Linked DNA regions of Homo sapiens: all the other regions are linked to region 2. The links are contacts of gene promoters, found by promoter capture Hi-C in blood cells and fetal thymus (Javierre and others, 2016). All regions are on one chromosome and are shown on one strand. The core of a region is centred on a gene start or on the middle of the fragment in contact, and the rest is flanking DNA. Distances in the headings are between cores, read along the strand shown.

Region 1 (3,409 bases), core at 910-3,409, 170 kb before region 2:
CCCTGAGTCGACTGGGCCAGAGGACTTTGCGGTGTTGGAGGGAGCGGTGGCTCCAGGCCACGAGGTGACTGGCTGAGCAGATCACGTGCTCTCACTGAACCCCAGACCCAGAGAGAGGAAAACAGCAAGTAAGCCAGGGAAAGCGAAGGGGATGGTCGTGCCTGAGGCCGGTCTGTCTTCTCTCCCAGCCCTGCCTGTGAGTGGCTGCCAGGGCCACACTATGGCCAGAGCCAGTCTGGATGCCAGCACCTCGGGGAATTCTGCATCATGTGGGCGTGTCCTGCAGGGGGTGCAAAAGACCCGCCCTCCTTAGAGCTGGGGTGCAGCCTGTGATCCAGGTCCTGCGCACTGCAGCCCCTCTGAGGCTCCTGTGTGGAGCCGGGTGTCACAGGGTGTCACAGGCAGTCGCCTTGTGATTTGGGGCCGCAGAGTCCCACCCCGAGCAGCACGGCTGAGGGTCTTTCCAGTGGCCCCAGTGGTCTTCGTTCCTGGCTGATCCTACAAGCCAATATCCCCCACCAATGTATCCCTCCCAGCCTTCTCCTCACCCCACGGGAGGGAAGAAGCATGGCCCCCTCTGAGAAGCTGATGCAAGTTATGAGCAATTTCTGCAGGAAAATACAACGTCAGAAAGTTCACAGACCCCCTGGAGGCCATTCCCGGCCTCCCTGGGGTCCAAGGGAAAAGGAGGACTGATCCAGACAGAGGGAGCCTAAATCACCCAGATCTGGATCCCTAGCTGGGCCCTGAACCAGAGCGGGAGAGGCTACAAAGAATGTCAAGGAGAAACGCAGGCAACAGTGTAGCATCAAGGTTGGTGCAGTGGGTGAGAGTGTAGCATCAAGGTTGGTGCGGTGGGTGAGAGTGTAGCATCAAGGTTGGTGCGGTGGGTGAGAGTGTAGCATCAAGGTTGGTGCGGTGGGTGAGAGTGTAGCATCAAGGTTGGTGCGGTGGGTGAGAGTGTAGCATCAAGGTTGGTGCGGTGGGTGAGAGTGTAGCATCAAGGTCAACACAGGGGGTAGCGTGTTGCATCCCTACTGTGGTTCTGCAGGAGGTTTTCCTTGTGGCAGGAGATACCTGCTGTGCATCAGGCGAAGATGTACAATGCCTGCAACACAGTCTCAGAATGGCCGGGCTCACGCCTGTAATCCCAACACTTTGCGAGGCCGAGGCCAGCAGATCGCCTGAGGTCAGGAGTTGGAGACCAGCCTGGTCAACATGGTGAAACCCCATCTCTATTAAAAATGCAAAATTAGCTGGGCATGCTGGCTCACGCCTGTAATCTCAGCTACCCAGAAGCTGAGGCAGGAGAATCGCTTGAACCCAGGAGGTGGAGGTTGCAGTGAGCCGAAATCATGCCATTGCACTCCAGCCTGGGCAAAAAGTGAAACTCTGTTTCAAAAAAAAAAAAAAGGCTCAGGAATGGAAAGGCAGGGGTGGGGTGGTAAGAAAGGAAGGGAGAGATGGAGGGAAAAAAACAGGAGGAGAAAGGATAGGAAAAAATGTGTTTATGTCTATACCTGGGAAGAGATCGCAAGGGAGGGACAGAGAGAAGGAACACAAATCTATCAAAAAGTTAAAAGCTGATGATTCTATACTGTATGATTCCCTTTATGTGAAGTGTACAAAACAGCAAATCCACAGACAGAAGGCAGAGAGGGCTTCGTGGGGTGGGGGGGAGGGGGGGGTGCATGGTTGGGGGTGATGGCTAAGCGGTTGCAGGGTTTCGTTGGGGGATGATGAAAATGTTCTACAACCAATGTGGTCATAAATGCCCGACCCCGTGAATAGACTAAAAAGCACTGAAGTGTGCACTTTGGGTGAATTGTAGGGTAGGTGAATTACATCTCAAAAAGCTGTCTAAAAAACAAAAACAAAAAAGAAAAAGCACTGGCGAATCTTAGTGAAAGTCATATGGGTAGTCACATGCTATTGCTTCAACTTTTCTGTAAATCTGAAGCTTTCCCAAAATAAAAAGTTGGAGGAGGAAGGAGACAGAATCCAGGTCCAGGGCTGATTTGACCCACTCCCCATTTCAACCAAAGAGGGGCTCCCGAACCTCAGATCTCCGCCGTCACGTGTCCCACTAGCTAGTCCTCCCGCATGGCTCTCGTGGACCCCTGAACCCACGCGGAATCCTATCCTTTCAGCCTGGCCAGCGGCCCCGTCAGGACAGCCGCGTCAGAAGTCTCGGAGGCTGCCGGTATCTCATTTCCTCGTCAGTCTCCCTTTCCTTCCACACGGTCCCCTGGAGTCTGCCGGGAACCATGCTCACACCCTTCCACTCCAACCCAGCCAGACCCTGACAACCACCCCATGAAGCGGCACCAGTGGTCCTGTTTTAGGAAATCAGGGAAGCAAGCTTCAGGGACGTGCCTGGAGTCACCAGTCACAGGCAGAGCTGGGAGGCAAGCCCAGGACTTTAGAAGACATGCTGGGGACCCAGGGATCCTGTGTGGCCATCACACACCTGCTAGAAGCAACACCCCTTCCCTAGAAAAATGAACCTGGCCAGACACAGTTTCAGGGGCTCCTGGACCCCATATGAAGGCTCCTGGGGTACGATGAGTCTCAGAGGACAGGGAGACCAGTCCCTGGCAACCCCTGCATGCCCCTACTCCCCCCCAAGTAAACGCATCCCCTCCCAGAAAGACCTGCGGCAGGGTTCCAGCAATCCTACCTAACGCACTCCTGGGTGAGTCCCTCCACCCACCCACCCCGCCCCGGCATTCCAATCCCCTCAGTTACTCAGGGGGATTGACAGTCCCAGTTGGTAGGGGTTTGAGTTCTCATCCTGTGCGTGTGCTGGGCTCCAAGCAATCCTGGAGGCAGGCCCCTACACCCCCATTTCACAGGTGAGGAAACTGAGGCACAAAGAAAGACAATCCTAGGAAGCAGGGTCAGCCTCGGTGCCCAGGCCGCCTCTAAAGCTCTCAGCCTGGAGACCACGGGTGAGGAGGTGTCCCCCACCCCACACACAGCACACCAGAGCCCACCTCGGCGGGCGATCTCCGCCTTCAGCAGCCCCTCCATGGCGTCCGACTCGGCCAGGTCCAGGGGCAGGTCCCCGTCACTGTTGACGGCGGCGATGTTGGCCCCGTGGCTCAGGAGGTACCTGGGGGTGGGGGCTGGTCAGGGCTGAGGGTCCAGGCCCCCACCCCGACCAGGTCCTGCCCGGCCCTCCCTTGCCTCACCTGGCGATATCTAGGTAGCCACAGGAGGCGGCCACGTGCAGTGGCGTCCAGCCCTCGTTGTCTGCCTGGTTCACAGTGGCGCCCTGCTCCACCAAGAAGCGCACCACCTCCAGGTTCTCATCAATGCAGGCCTGGGGGTGGGAAACAGCCGTCAGCCGCACCTACCCCAGCCACGGTGTCCCAGCAAGTCGGGACTCCAGAGGGAGCCACGAAAA
Region 2 (3,312 bases), core at 472-2,971:
TGTAGTGAGCTGAGATTGTGCCACTGCACTCCAGCCTGGGAGACAGAGCAAGATTCCGTCTCAAAAAAAAAAAAAAAAAAAAAAAAAAAAAAAAAAAAAGGCTACAGAACCAGCCTGGCTAACAGGGTGAAACTCCATCTCTACTAAAAATACAAAAAAAGCCGGACGCCTAAAATTGTACCCTGCTCAACAGGCCCCTCTTAACCCCCTTCCCTGCTGTAGTCACCTCCTCAGCACGGACATGATTATCTAACACACCATACATTTTGCCTATTGACCTTGCTGATCATCTGTTTCATCCACCAGCATGGAAGCTCCACAGGACAGGCCTTTTTGCTGATTTAGGTCACTGCCACGTTCTTACCAACAGGAACAGTGCCTGGCTGAGATTTGGCACTCATTAAAGATGTGTGGACTCAAGGTGTTGAATGGGGGACTGGGAAATCTCACAGGAGCCAATAGGCTCCTGTGTGCACTTTATTTTATTTTATTTTTGTTAGAGACAGGGCCTCACTCTGTTGCTCAGGCTGGAGTGCAGTGGTGCAAACGTAGCTCACTGCAGCCTAGAACTCACTGACTCAAGCCTCAGCCTCCCAAGTAGCTGGGACTACAGGCACATGCCACCATGCCCGGCTAATTTTTAAAAAAATTTTTGTAGGGATGGGGTCTCACTGTGTTGCCCAGGCTGATCTTCCCACCTCTGTCTCCCAAAGTATTGGGATTACAGGCATGAGCCACCTTGCCCAGCCCTGGGTGTGCTTTACAGGGGACTTGAGAATTAAATGGGTGTCTAACACTTGCGGGTACATGACATAGAGGGATCTATGGTTTATGCGGAAAGCTAATGGGGGCAGGCGGGTTACTCACAGGCAGAGCACATGCTTGTGGACCTGCTACAGTGGGGATGTATGGGCTGTACTGGGGTCCACATGAAGATATAAAGGACCCTATGACGAGCACAGAGAATATATGGGGGTCTAAAAACATAACACAGGGAAACTGAGGGGGTTCTGGAAGCTTCTCTGTAAAGAGAATCCAAAATCACTCTGGGCTGTGGGTAGATATGGGGCCTTGACATTGGTGGGGACACAGACTTACCCTTACCCTGAATGGGTGGCCTTAGGGGGCTGGGGAAACAGACATGAATTTTGGGTCAGCAACTCCAAGAATTCTTTCCCCTCTCTGTCTCTGTCTCCCTCCATATGTCCCCACCTCTCCCCAGCACGTGTCCCTCCACCTGTGTGTACCCCCGGCCCTCTCTACAGCTCCATCTGCGCCCCCTCTCCCCCACCTCTCTGGTTGGTCTTCCTCTCTCTGTCTCTCTGAATCTCTGACTCTCTCCATCCCTCTGTCGGCTTCCAGCAGCTTTCTCTCCCTCTCCCTGTCTGTTTTCCCGGCTTGCCATTCCTTCCTTCTCTTCTGTCCCTGTCCATCTCTGCCCTTCCTCCCTCTCTGCCTCAGCCTGTCTCTGGTGGTCTCCATCCCTCTGGCGTCTCTGCCTGTCTCCCGTCTCTGTGTCAGCCAGCATCTCTCTTTGTGTATCTCCATCTCTGCCCCATCTGTTGGGTCCTCTCTCTCTCTCTCCATCCTTCCCTCCATCCTCTCTCCTGCATCCTCCCACCTCCTCTCCATCCCTCCAGCTGGAGGCCCGCCCCCTGCCCCCCCTCGCTCCCCCTCCCCCCTCCGAAAGGGTTAACTTTGGGGAAGGGCCCGGAGTCCCCGGATGGTGATGTCAGCGTGCCGGAGAGAAAGGACGAGGTGGCGGGGGGAGGCGGAGAGGAGGAGGAGGCGGAGGAGAGAGGGCGCGTGGGGGGGCGGGGGGGACCTCGGCCTGCAGCATCCGCCGGCCCGCACCTCAGACCCCCCCGGCGGGGGGAGGCGCAGGAAGCGGGGGGCCGGCCAGAAACGGGCTGGGGAGGGGGGGCCCCGCAGCCCCCCTGGGCCATGCTGACTCCCGGGGCCTGACCCCCCCGGGCCAGCCCCCCCTCCCCCAGCTCCGCGGCCCGCCGACTGGGGGGGGCCAGCCCAGCCCCCTGGGGACCCCCGGAGAGGTGGGGGGCAGCCGGGGGGGCCGGGACGGAGCGGTCGCCGGCCCCCACCGGAGAGACGGGGCGACGGCCGCAGGGGGGGCGGCCGGGGGACCGGTCGGGCCGGGACCAAGGGCACCATGTCGTCCGGGGCCAAGGAGGGAGGTGGGGGCTCTCCCGCCTACCACCTCCCCCACCCCCACCCCCACCCACCCCAGCACGCCCAATATGTGGGCCCCTATCGGCTGGAGAAGACGCTGGGCAAAGGACAGACAGGTGAGCCTAGCAGAAGGGGACACCTGGGGCGGGGGGCAGGGTGGAGGTGGCGGCAGAGGCGGGACTCAGGGTATTCAAATGGCAGGGGCTGGCTGCCCAGACCCCTGGGCCCCTCATAGAGAAGGGACTTGGGATTCAGACTCCTGGGTCCCTGGATGGAGGGGGTGGGGGGCGCAGACTCAGGTCCTGGAGGAGAGGGGCTGGGGGCCTGGACTCCTGGGTCTGAGGGAGGAGGGGCTGGGCACTGGACTCCTAGGTCTGAGGGAGGAGGGCCTGGGGGCCTGGACTCCTGGGTTTCAGGGAGGAGGGCCTGGGGGTCTGGACTCCTGGGTTTCAGGGAGGAGGGGCTGTGCTTGGACTCCGGAGTCTGAGGGAGGAGAGGCTGGTGGCCTGCACTCCTGGGTCTGAAGGAGAAGGGCTTGGGGGCCTGGACTCCAGGGTCTGAGGGAGGAGGGGCTGGGGGTCTGGACTTCTGGGTCTGAGGGAGGAGGGGACTGGGGTCCTGGACTTTTGGGTTTGAGGGAGGAGGGACTGCGGTCCTGGACTTTCAGGTCTGAGGGAGGAGGGCCTGGGGGCCTGGACTCCTGAGTATGAAGGAAGAGGGTCTGGGGTCTGGACTCCTGGGTCTGAGGGAGGAGGGGCAGGGGTGCTGAACTCCTGGGTCTGAAGGAGGAGGGGCTGGGGGCCTGGACTCCTGAGTCTGAGGGAGGAGGGCGGTCGGAACCTTGAGTGTTGGGACAGGGAGTTTGGGGCCCCAGTGCTCCAGTCCCCATAGGGGCAGAGGCTGGAGGGGCTCCAGGGCCAGGGAGGGGATGGAGGCGGCCTGCAGAGTGGGGCCGGGCTGGGACCTGAGGTTCTTGCTGCAGTACAGCTGCAGACCGGGGTGCAGTGCATCCATCCTGGGAAACCTCTTCCCTCCCCACTGTCCTCTGGCCTCCAGTTCTCCAGGCAGCAGGTTGGGGTGACAGGGGCCGTGGGGCCTAAGACATTCTCCCCTTCTCTGGCATGC
Region 3 (3,409 bases), core at 902-3,401, 140 kb after region 2:
GAGACATTCACAAGCCCACCCTTCAAATGCGGGTTAAGAATAGCTGCTGAGAGGCTGCATTTATTGGCACAGTCGGGTTGCCAGTTGAGCGAGTGTTAGGTGACAAAGGCGAACACTGAAGGCAGAATGCTCATGTCAGATCTTATCCTTGACTTGCCCGCCCTGCACACAGTGGGTGTGGAGCAGATTGCTCTTCTCTTGTTGAACACAAATGAATCCGTTGGCTGGCATGTGGCATCCATGAGGAATGAAAATACATACACTGAAGCACTGGAGTTCCGATTCAGAGTGGGAAGCTAATCACCCTCTGAGGGAGAGGAATGAGACTCCAGTCGCCCATCTCTCTCACGTGTCTTGGCATATGCTTAGTGAGGGGAATGGCAGGCAAAGTCTGCACCATTTGCATTTAAATCTACGCTGTGGGAGGCTGAGGTGGGAGGATCGCTCGAGGTCAGGAGTTCAAGACTAGCCTGGTCAGCATAGCCAGATTCCCATCTCTACATTTATATTTTTTTAAATTCTTTTTTCTTTCTTTTCTGTTAATTAATTAATTAATTAATTTATTTATTTATTAGGCAGAGTCTCACTCTGCCAGCCAGGCTGGAGTGCAGTGGCACGATCTTGGCGATCTCAGCGATCTTGGCTCACTGCAACCTCCTCCTCCTGAGTTCAAGCGATTCTCCTGCTGCAGAATTTAAAAATTCTATTAAAAAAAAAAAGTAGGGCCAGGCATGGTGGCTCATGCCTGTAATCCCAGCACTTTGGGAGGCCGAGGTGGGCAGATTATCTGAGGTCAGGAGTTCGAGACCAGCCTGGCCAATGTGGCGAAACCCCGTCTCTAGTAAAAATACAAAAATTAGCTGGGGGCCTGGTGGTGGGCACCTGTAATCCCAGCTAGTCAGGAGGCTGAGGATCACTTGGGGAATCAAGGCTGCAGTGAGCTGAGATTGCACCACTGCACTCCAGCCTCTGCAATAGAGCAACACCCTGTCTAAAAAACAAAACAAAACAGTAGAGAGTACACTTGCCGATACAAAAATCCAGAAGTGCAAAAGGGCATTTAGAAGTAAAAAGCCCCAGCCATCCAGTTCCCCTCTCCATAAGCAACCCTGTCAGCCAGAATGGGCTATGCTAGGCTGCAGTAACAAGTAGCCCCAAAGCCCTGGTTGTTAAAGCAACAAGAGTTTATTTCTCATTCGTGCTACATGTGCATCTGCGGCTGGTGGAGCCCCTATTTGGCATCATCCTTACTCTGGGGCCCTGGCTGATCTGCCTGGGACTCAGGCCAGCAGAGCAGCTATGACCTGAAATATGCCAGTGCCCATGGAGGAGGGAAAAGACAGAGCATGGGAGAACCACACCCTGTCTCTCACAAGCTTCTGCCTGGAAAGATACTTCTGCCCGCACTTCATAGGCCAAGGCAAGTCGCACGGGCACAGCTAACTTCGGGGGCAGGGAAATAGAATCCTACCATGTGCCCAGGAGGAGAATTGGAAATATTTGGTGCAGCAAATTTATATACAGATTCTGTTCCCCGCTCCTTTTACACAAATGGTAGCATTCATGCACACTATTCTATATCTTGCTTTCTTACTTAACAATAAACCTTGGAGACTATTTCACACTGGGTGATGTGGGCAACATCCAAGGCATCCTCATTCTCTTTTATACAGCTTACTTGCACTATTAAATTTCTGTTTCTCTTTCTATATATACAGTTGGGTGCAGATAAGTTAACTATACTTATGGCATAATGTCCTTCTATTATTAGATGAAAAAAGCAGGGGCCAGGTGCGCTGGCTGATGCCTATAATCCCAGTACTTCGGGAGGCCAAGGCAGGAGAATTACCTGAAGTCAGGAGTTCGAGACCAGCCTGGTGAACGTGATGAAACCTGGTCTCTACTAAAAATTCAAAAATTAGCTGGGCGTGGTGGCGCATGCCTGTAGTTCCAGCTACTCAGGAGGCTGAGGCACGAGAATTGCTTGAACCTGAGAGGCAGAGGTGGCAGTGAGCAGAGATCGCGCCATTGCATTCCAGCCTGGGAGACAGGGTGAGACTTTGTCTCAAAAAAAAAAAAAAAAAAAAAAAAAAAATGGGCCAGGCACGGTGGCTCACGCCTGTAATCCCAGCACTTTGGGAGGCTGAGGCGGGTGGATCACAAGGTCAGGAGTTCGAGACCAGCCTGATCAGTATGGTGAAACCCCATCTCTACTAAAAATACAAAAATTAGCAAGGCATGGTGGTGCGCACCTGTAGTACCAGCTACTAGGGAGGCTGAGGCAGGAGAATTGCTTGAACCTGGGAGGCGGGGGTTGCAGTGAGCCGAGATTGTGCCACTGCACTCCCGCCTGGGTGACAGAGCAAGACTCCATCTCAAAAAACAAAACAAAATAAAAAAAGAAGTAAAAGAAAAAAGAAGTTACAGAGCAGTCTATATATAGGAAGGCTGATTTGTAAAAAAAAAAAAATTGTTTTCATGTGGAAATTTCTAGAAGAAAACATAGCTAATGTAAACAGCATTTGACTCTAAGCAGTGAGAAATCAGGAGATCTCCATTTTGTTATCTCCTTCTCTGGATTTTCTAATTTTTTTTTCCCCTATAACAATCACTGTCATTGTGACAGTGCACTTGGTTGCCAGGAACAGAAGCCAAGAGAGGTTTGTGGGAGAACTGAGGGACTTCCATGGGTTCACTTGTTCCTCAAGAACAAGGACCTTGTTTGTGCCGTTCACTGTATTTTGTTGACTGAATTAGTGAACTGGCATAGCAGAAAATAAAATTCAACCGTGCCCCTTGGAGTCTCAAACTGGGGATGGGTAGTTGCTGCCTCATGGTATTTTTCTACCTCTCTTTTATCTGTGTCTCTCCAGTTCTCTTTCCAGAGTGATGCGCAAACAAACCCTCAGATGCAAGGTGAAAGCCTGAAGCTTAGAGACAAATATTTAGTTGCATCTAGGGAGAATTTTCCTAAAGTTCGTAAAATTGGTACATAGAGGAACCTCCCCTCCTGGCCAGAGTCTGCATCTGAGCACTAAGGTAAGGAGGCAACTCTCGTCAGCACTGTGCAAATGTTTTAATGCACTGGGTGGGAAAGGGAAGCAGGCAGGGAGAATGCTTCCTTTTTGTATTTTTTATTTTTGAGACAAAGTCTTGCTCTGTTGCCCAGGCTGGAATGCAGTGGTGCGATCTCAGCTCACTGCAACCTCTGCCTCCCGGGTTCAAGTGATTCTCCTGCCTCAGCCTCCCGAGTAGCTGGGACTACAGGTGCGCACCACCACATCCAGCTGATTTTTGTGTTTTTAGTAGAGACATGGTTTCACCACATTGGCCAGGCTCGTCTCAAACTCCTGACCTCAAGTAATCCTCCCACCTCAGCCTCCCACAGTGCTGGGATTACAGGCGTGAG

The links. Contacts are between HindIII fragments. The CHiCAGO score rates a contact against its expected background, and 5 or more counts as called.
Region 1: a fragment that was not itself captured here is called in contact with the fragment with the promoter of BRSK1 in region 2 in 4 of 17 cell types (erythroblasts, total CD8 T cells, naive CD8 T cells and 1 more); the score reaches 7.4 in erythroblasts.
Region 3: a contact is called between a fragment that was not itself captured here and the fragment with the promoter of BRSK1 in region 2, in 16 of 17 cell types (M0 macrophages, M1 macrophages, M2 macrophages and 13 more). The highest score is 25.6, in M0 macrophages.

What each region holds. Positions count from the first base shown.
Region 1 is chr19:55,109,471-55,112,879 of GRCh38, forward strand. It overlaps PPP1R12C (protein phosphatase 1 regulatory subunit 12C), which reads right to left. Exons shown (of 22, transcript NM_017607.4): 2 at 3,195-3,325; 3 at 2,997-3,115. Among named protein-coding and RNA genes, the nearest start is that of PPP1R12C, 6.5 kb to the right of the region's middle. The HindIII fragment of the contact is 402 bases long and covers 1,959-2,360 here.
Region 2 is chr19:55,282,276-55,285,587 of GRCh38, forward strand. BRSK1 (BR serine/threonine kinase 1) reads left to right here and starts at 1,722. Exons shown (of 19, transcript NM_032430.2): 1 at 1,722-2,303. The coding sequence starts at 2,168. The HindIII fragment of the contact is 8,428 bases long and covers 1,016-3,312 here.
Region 3 is chr19:55,423,579-55,426,987 of GRCh38, forward strand. LOC105372462 (a long non-coding RNA gene) reads left to right here. Exons shown (of 3, transcript XR_936075.3): 3 at 2,874-3,150. Among named protein-coding and RNA genes, the nearest start is that of UBE2S, 17 kb to the left of the region's middle. The HindIII fragment of the contact is 1,554 bases long and covers 1,375-2,928 here.